Linked DNA regions of Homo sapiens: all the other regions are linked to region 1. Evidence: promoter capture Hi-C in human tissues and cell types (Jung and others, 2019). All regions are on one chromosome and are shown on one strand. The core of a region is centred on a gene start or on the middle of the fragment in contact, and the rest is flanking DNA. Distances in the headings are between cores, read along the strand shown. Region 1 holds the start of PRICKLE4 (prickle planar cell polarity protein 4). Region 2 has its middle 81 kb from the start of NCR2. Region 3 overlaps C6orf132 (chromosome 6 open reading frame 132).

Region 1 (2,613 bases), core at 62-2,561:
CCGTGGGCATAGCAGGAGATTTGTTGAGTGAATGAGGGGGTTCTGAGGGCTCCAGGAGATGCGATGATGTGTCCAGGGCGGAGAGGGTAGAGGTGGGTTGGGGGAGCCAGAGGCTGCAGGACAGGCTACAGGACTGTCAAGGGGAATTTCTACATGCCCGTAAGGAATGAGGAGGTCTGGGTGCGCGCTGTCCCCGGATCCCCGCCCCCAGCCCCGGTGCTCCGCCGCCTGCCCGCCCGCCCGGGGCTTCCTAGGGAGGGAGTGGAGACTGCGGCGCGGCGCGGCGCGGCGCGGCGCGGCCTCGGTGAAGCCGCCTCGTCCCCGCCCCGCCGCGCCCCGACTCACATCGCCCCGCGGCCCGGGCGGCGCCGGGCCCCGCTCCCGGGTCCCGCTGCAGCAGCCGCCGCCCGCCCGGAGCTAAGGCCTCCCCGCCCCGCCCCGCCCCGCGGCCGCGGGGTCGGAGGTCACCGGCAGCACCAACGAGACGCTGCGGGCTGGCGGACCCGAGCGGGGGCGACCGGCACGCAGCCTAGAAGGTCCCTTTGGAGGACTTTGCAGTCGGGAGCAGTGAGCATGCGCAGACGCCAGAGGGCGCTCCTGGCCAGGGGCTGAGCAAGCCCGGAGGGGACAGGGCGGAGCCTGCGGCGGAGGCGGGGCGCGGAGGCGGGGCTGAGGACACCAAAGTTGGGGGTGGTCCGGGGAGCGGAAAGGGGACGGAGGGTTGGGCGAGAAACGAAGGGAAGGGGAGAGGGTCTGAAGGGACCTGAAAGGAGAAGGGCAAGACGATGGAACCTGGAAGAGGGTTGAGGGGAGGGGAAGGGGCCAGGGGGACCACTGGGGACAAGGGGGAGAGAACTGAAGGGAAACACGCGGAGGAGCGGGGCTGGGAGACCACAGGGAGAGTTTGGGGAGACCTGGGAACTGCGGAGAGACAGGGCTGCGGGCCCGGCGAGGCGTTTCCATTCAGCGAATGGTTGAAAACCCAGCGTAAACGCGGCTCCCGGCGTCTGCTGGATGCCTGCCGGGCGCAGTCCGAGCCAGAGAGCCCTTGCACCTGCATGGCAGAGGCCATGGAGCCCGCACATTTCCACCCTGAGATCCCATAAATGTGGTTTTGTTTTCCTTTTTTTTTTCCTCCCCCCAATCTGCAGCTCCAGGCCCCTCCCTGAGCCGCCCCTCTCCACCAGCCGGGGAGGGGCGGGCGGGGGCCGCTGGGGCGTGGGAGAGGAAGGGCCGCGCTATTAGGGCGGGCGGGGGCGGACGGGGGCGGGCGCTGAAGCCTTGGGGTGGGGACCGGGTGAGGGGCCTGACGGCAGAGTCGGTCCAGAACTGCCCGGACAGCGACGCACAGCGAGGGTGAGACCCCAGCGGAGTCCTGGTCCCCTCCCCTAAAATCCCAGCAGCCAGACCGGGAACCCCAGCGGACTCGGGAAACACCGCGTCCCAGCCCCGGAGGCGGGCCCGCCAAGTTCCAGAAAAACTCTGGGGATCTATCGAGAGGGCAGTTGGCGGGACTGGGCACTCCCCTTCCTTCTCCCTCCCACTGTCCCCAGAAATCTTCCCATCCCTCCACCTCCCCAAGCCCTAAGTCCTCTCGGGCTCTGCCCTTCAGGGCAGCGGGTGTTGGGGATGTCCAGCTCCTGAGCCCTCTTGCACGGAGGCTCTGCACGGAGGCAAGACAAGGGGTTCAGCTCTGTCCCTTATCTGAGGTGGGAGGGGGAAGGGAATTATGGAAGGAATCCAGCTGGCCTGTTAGTAAGGGTGTTCCAGTGCTAGGTGGAGGTGGAGTTTGGCTGCCTTTGGGGAGATTGGAAGGGTGAGGAATAGAGGCCTGATTTCTGAGTGTTGTTTCTGTGTTGGACAATTCTATGCAAACTAGAGCCAAAATGGAAGAGGGTGCAAGTCCCCTCCTGGGGCCCCAGACGCCCCCTCCTTTCTTGCTGCCTGGAGCAGGGGCAGTGCTGTTAGTGGCTACTCCTGGTGTGAACAGCCCATCCTGGCCACCTTCCACAGGAAACCTGACCTGAAGGACAGAAGAGGAAGGAAGCAGGTGGGTGTGAAGCCAGGAAGGAGGGAAGGGTGGCACAGGACATTTGAAGTGGGAGTGGAGGGGCGGTGCTGAGGAGGGTTCAGTGCTGGGAAGCAATATTAACTGTTACAGTCCAAACCCTCACCTCAACCCCAGTACGAATCCCTGGCCCAGTCTTAGAGGCCAGGGATTTGATGATGACCCTCCTGTGCCCAGCTACTTTCAGAATCTATCCCAGCTCTCAGAAGCCAGGTCCCCCTAAGGCTTCCCTTAGCCTCTGGTATGATCTTGGGCAAGTTAATTAACTTGTTTCAACTGTCAAGTGGAATGAAAGAGATTACCTCATAAGATTATTGTGAGGATGGACTATATTATGTAATATTCTAGAAGAGTCCTTGGCACAGAGTAAATATTATTAAAAAGTTTGCTCTGGTTATTTTTTTCTCCAGGGTTTTTGTATGTCTGTCCCGAGCTCTGATTGATCCCATTCTACCTGGTTTCATCTTTGTCTTACCCACTATGAGCTCCTTGAGGGCGGGGCTCATCTCTTCTCTACATTAATAGTCGCTTTTTTTTTTTTTTTT
Region 2 (2,613 bases), core at 71-2,570, 360 kb before region 1:
ATTAGACTCTGCCCATGGTACAGAGCTGTATCTCCTGGCTTCCCTGGACCACATGTGCCTGGGTGCCTGGACCTGTGTCCTGTGTCCTGTCCCTGTGCTGAACACCCGGGTGTGCACGTGGAGGTAGGGAAGGTGTGTGCAGGGGAATTGTATATACTCACACTATATCAATATCTGGACATATCTCACACTGGATCTGGAAAGCCACATCAGAGTGTGTGTGTGTGTGTGTGTGTGTGTGTGAGAGAGAGAGAGAGAGAGAGAGAATATACAAGTGAGATGAGGGGAAGACTGGGAAACCACGGGGGAGAAAAAAGAAAGAATAGTTGAAAGGGCAGAGAGGGACAGAGTTAATACGCAGAATAATGAGAGTGACAATCATAACAATAATAATAACAAGAATAACACAAACCTTGCCTTTTTTTTTTTTTCCAAGCTGAATGTGAGCTGGAGCAGGGCTGAGGGGATTAATCTCTTAAAAAATAAGTGCCGAGTGAGGAGACAGGCAGTGATTAAGGTTTTAACTGATCAGTCTGCATCTGACAGTGAACCAGCTATTATCTTAACGGAATCAAACGAACATTCAAAGCTGTGCTCAGCCCCAAACATGAAAGGAGATGTCATCTGCTGGCAGCTGGCAAGCCGCAGGGGGAGCTGAAGGGGAGAGAGGAATGGAGGGAGCGGAGGAGAGACAGAGGGGGAAAGAAGAGAGTCACGGTGAAGGACACAGGAAGGTGGAGGAAAGGAGGGCATGACAGGCTCCTGCGGCCCCGTTCCCTCCACCCACCAGACACACACACCATGTCCCAGTCCCCCCAGTACCCCACCCGACCAGATCATAGGTGCTAAAGCACAGGTCTGAGATTCAGTCACTCCCCTGCTCAGAAACCTTCATTGGCTCCCCACTTCCTGAAGGATAAAGACAGGACATGATGAAGGCAGGGGCCCAAGGGAGGAGGCTGTGAGGCTGTGAGGCTCAGGCTGGAGTCTTGTTTCCTGCGGTGCCTCAACCAGGACCCCTGCTCCTCTCCTCCGGCTCCAGCACAACGAAGCCTCCTTCATTAAGTAAGCAGTTCCTTAATGAATAAAGGAAATGGGATAAGGAAAAAGAAACAAGAAGAAAAACAGACAGAGGTGCTTTTGCCAGGCATTTAGACTGATTTTCCCGTTTAATTCTCCCAACCTCCAGAAATGAAGGTTATTCCAGTCTTTGTCAGAGAGGTGGAGCATCTTGCTGCAGATCCCACAGCTTGAAAGAGGCAGAACTGGGATTTGAACCCCGGCTTCTCTGACTCCAGTTTCTCTGCTCTTCTCACCTAAAAAAAAGTGGGACGGAAGAGCAGACAACAGGAAGAGAAGGGGCAAACCAGAAAAGAGCACCGAGGGAGCTCGTTCTTCTGGTACTTTATCCCTGAACATTAAGCCAAAGATGTCCCTTCCTGTCCCACTCTTCCAAAGCAAAGGCACTGGGTAAGGGGGACTCTAGAATAAGCTTGTCCCTGGGCCTGGACCAGCACCTAGAGCATTCAGTATTTGTTGGAAGAGGGAAGGAGGGGAGGGTGTGGTCCCAGGGCAAGTCCCAGCAGGGGTGGAACAGAGAAAGTTACCTGCTCTGTGGCCATCCCACCCCTCTCCAGGACCCTCAGACAGAGGAATACCCAGCCCTGAGGCTGTGTGTGAGTGTGTGAGCTCAGGGGAGAGAGAAAGGAAAAAGAAGTGGAAAAGGAAAGATTTAGAAAGGGAGGGAAAAAAAGGAACATATCTGGAAAATTAGAAAAGTTGACTCACATACAAGGGCCCTGTGACAATGTATTTGTGAATGTGGAGCTGACCCTCTAACCCCACTTCCCCTCTCTTACTGACTCTCTCACCCACTTGAGGAGACAGCTGTTCCTCAAAGAAAATAGGCATATGGTCCTCCGTCTTTCCTCTTTGTCACACACTCTCAGCCTCTCAGCCTCTCTCTCTCTTTCTCTCTCTCTCTCTCTCTCACTCACACACACACACACACACACACACACACACACACACAGAGTCAGTGCTGGGTCCCTGCTCACAATCTGCCACTCCAGGCCCATAGCCCGGCTTGGGCCACAGCCAAGCTTCCAGAATTGCTCCTTTTGGTCCAGGTAAGACCAGGCAGGATCCAGTCCAGGCTCTGGCTGTGGAGCTGGCCCTGTGCTTCCCTGGTGCCTTGCCCCTCCCTGAATACAGACTTCAAGGCTGGCCCAGAAGGGAGGAAGCCAGGGCAGAAGCCAGCAGCCAGCCATGGTGGGTCAGATGGGCAGGAGGCAAGGGCTCCCCTAGAGCTTGCGGTAATTCCCTCTCCAGGCTGCCAGTCCCTGTACTTTCCCTCTGCCTCCATTCTGGTTCAGGACATCCCCATTTCATGGCTGAATTGTGACAACAGCCTCCTAAACTGTCTCCCTCTCTTTAACCCACTTGCACACCACTACCAGGAGTCTCTTTCTAAGACATAGCCCAGATGGCATCCTTCCCTTGTCAGAAACCATCAATAGCTTCCCTTTGCCTGGAAGGATCAAGTCCAGATTGCTAAAGCTGGACTCAAAGTCTCCCGCAGTCTGCCCCTCACTCTCCTCTCTACCTTCGCTC
Region 3 (2,613 bases), core at 33-2,532, 330 kb after region 1:
TTCAAACTGAAGAAACCAAGAGTGGGGAAGGGGAAAACTAACATTCACTGAGCACCCAACTGTCAGGCAGGACTTAGGAGCTGGGGTACAGCAGCAAAAAAACCAACAAAACAAAAAACAGACAAACACTGGTCCTCCTAGGGAGCTTACGCTTGAACGGGACAATGAACATAATGTGTGAGTACATTATTATCACATTAGAGGATGAGTGCGATGGGAAAAAACACCAGCAGGGGAGGGGTGCAGCAGGTGCAATTTAAATAGGGCAGTCCGGCCGGGTGCGGTGGCTCACACCTGTAATCCGAGCACTTTAGGAGGCTGAGGCAGGTGGATCACGAGGTCAAGAGATAGAGACCATCCTGGCCAACATGGTGAAACACTGTCTCTACTAAAAATACAAAAATTAGCTGGGCATGGTGGTGTGCACCTATGGTCCCAGCTACTCAGAGGCTGAGGTGGGAGAACTGCTTGAACCCGGGAGGCAGAGGTTGCAGTGAGCTGAGATCACACCACTGCCCTCCAGCCTGGCAACAGAGCGAGACTCCATCTCAAATAAATAAATAAATAAATAAATAAAGCAGTCTGAGAAGGCCTCGCAGAGAAGGTGACATTTGAGCAAAGAAGGGAGGAGTGAGGGAGACGGCCACACAGATGCCTCGCAGAAGAGCATTCTAACCTGAGAGGTCTGCAGTGCAAAGACCCCAAGGCGGAAATGTGCCTGGGGTATTTCAGGAGCAACAGGAGATGCTGTGGCCGGGGCAGTGTGGGAGGGGAAAGCAAGCAAGCAAAGTGGCCAGACTCCGGTCAGACTCCAGCAGTCCTTGCAAGAACCTTTTCTCTGAGTGACACGGGAAGCCATTAGTGAGTTTGAAGCACCTCTGAGAGGTGTGACAGACATGACATACATCCCATCCACCACTTCATTTACTCCTCCAAACTGAACTGTTGTTCCCATCGTTCGTTGGAAGATACAGAGGTAGGAGGGGTGAAGTGTCTTGCCCAAGGGAGCAAAGTGAATATGTGGGGAGCTGGGATTCAAAGCCAGGCCCTTCTTCCACTTTATGCTGCACTTGTTCCTGCTCTGGCTTTGTCCCCTTGCCATCCTTCCCCCGCCAGAAAGGGGCCTTCACTGACCGTGGCTCTCCTCAACTCCCAGCCCCACTGCCCTAGCCCACTGCGGCCAGTAATCAAGATGACTGAGGATGGCGAGAGTGGCTGTGCCTGAGGACTCTGGCTTTGTCACCAGCTGTGAAGATGAGCAGATGCTTAGCTTTTGAACTCAGGGCCCTAGGAGGAAAGAAAGATGGACAAGCCCCAAGCCCAGGGTTCACTTACCTGTCACTTCTTTGTCTGCAAAATCATCTGGAACCGAGGGGGTGGGCACAGCCAGCCCATGGTTTTCCTGGGCATTCTGAAAGAGACCAGAAAGAAATCAGGGGACAGGGAAAGATGGACAGATAATTCTCAAACTGCTGCTCTTTGAGGCCATTTTACTGCTTGAAAATCTGCAGTGACGGTCATGGTTGCATAACCTTGTGCATATACCAAAATATAAAAGGCTGATTTTAAAAAGTGAATCTTGTGGTACAGTCAACCAATCATCACTATTTGTCATAGTTATGTTCTATAAAGTTGCAATGAACATAGTATTAGTAAATACTGACCCGTTGCTCCTAGGGGAAATACAGGGTTAGGTTCCTATGAGCCTCTGGTCACAAGATTTTTGTCAACTGATCAATACATAACCATAACCTTGTTTTAGCTGTGTTTCTGCTTAAAGACATTTTAATATATTTTGTTGGTTGGTTAACATTGAACTCATGGCCGATAGCACTATAACACATGACACTAAACAGAAAAAGACACTTGTTTTTGTATGACAGCTAAAACAAGAAGGCATAGAATCCTCTTGTTCAGCTGGGAACATGTGCATTGAGCAACTCAAAATTTTCACTGCTCTGTGCATGTCTGCAAATGACCACAGAAGCAACACAAGCATTGATTCTGGGGTTACAAATACGTTTTAGCCACTAAGCAAATTTGCAAATACAGAATCCACAAATAGGGAGGATTGACTGTATATGAATTCCATCTCGATGAAAAAGACAAAACAAACAAATAGAATCTGCATTGACTCTCCATGGAGGTCCACAGGTGAAAAGCCAAACTCCTCAGCCTGGCCTCCTGTGTGTTCTTAGTTTTCATTAGGTGTTTACAGAAAAATAAAAAGTGATGAACTTGAATTTTTTTTTGTTTTAATTGAGACAGGGTTTTATTCTGTCACCTAAGCTGGAGTGCAGTGGTGCAATCATGGCTCACTGCAGCCTCCATCTCGTGGCTCAAGCAATCTTCCCATCTGTAGCTGGGACTACAGATGTGTGCCACCATTCCTGGCTAATTTTTTTTTTTTTTTTTTTTGAGATGGAGTCTTGCTCTGTCACCCAGGCTGGAGTGTAATGGCATGATCTCTGCTCACCACAACCTCTGCCTCCTGGGTTCAAGCAATTCTCCTGCCTCAGCCTCCCGAGTAGCTGGGATTACAGGGGCGTGCACCACCATGCCCAGCTAATTTTTTGTATTTTTAGTAGAGACGGGGTTTCACCATGTTGGCCA

Evidence for each region. The method cuts DNA at HindIII sites, captures the fragments that hold promoters and counts their contacts. A contact is called where the count stands out against the background at its distance.
Region 2: a contact is called between a fragment that was not itself captured here and the fragment with the promoter of PRICKLE4 in region 1, in 1 of the 25 tissues and cell types used here (mesenchymal stem cells).
Region 3: a contact is called between a fragment that was not itself captured here and the fragment with the promoter of PRICKLE4 in region 1, in 1 of the 25 tissues and cell types used here (lymphoblastoid cells).

Annotation. Positions count from the first base shown.
Region 1 is chr6:41,779,471-41,782,083 of GRCh38, forward strand. PRICKLE4 (prickle planar cell polarity protein 4) reads left to right here and starts at 1,312. Exons shown (of 8, transcript NM_013397.6): 1 at 1,312-1,356; 2 at 1,880-2,050. FRS3 (fibroblast growth factor receptor substrate 3) reads right to left here and starts at 430. Exons shown (of 7, transcript NM_006653.5): 1 at 346-430. RefSeq lists silencers at 156-305, 336-745, 1,026-1,095. The HindIII fragment of the contact is 3,550 bases long and covers 1-2,448 here.
Region 2 is chr6:41,415,744-41,418,356 of GRCh38, forward strand. No RefSeq gene overlaps it. Among named protein-coding and RNA genes, the nearest start is that of NCR2, 81 kb to the left of the region's middle. The HindIII fragment of the contact is 3,118 bases long and covers 1-2,613 here.
Region 3 is chr6:42,108,881-42,111,493 of GRCh38, forward strand. It overlaps C6orf132 (chromosome 6 open reading frame 132), which reads right to left. Exons shown (of 5, transcript NM_001164446.3): 3 at 1,336-1,411. Among named protein-coding and RNA genes, the nearest start is that of C6orf132, 32 kb to the right of the region's middle. The HindIII fragment of the contact is 5,795 bases long and covers 1-2,613 here.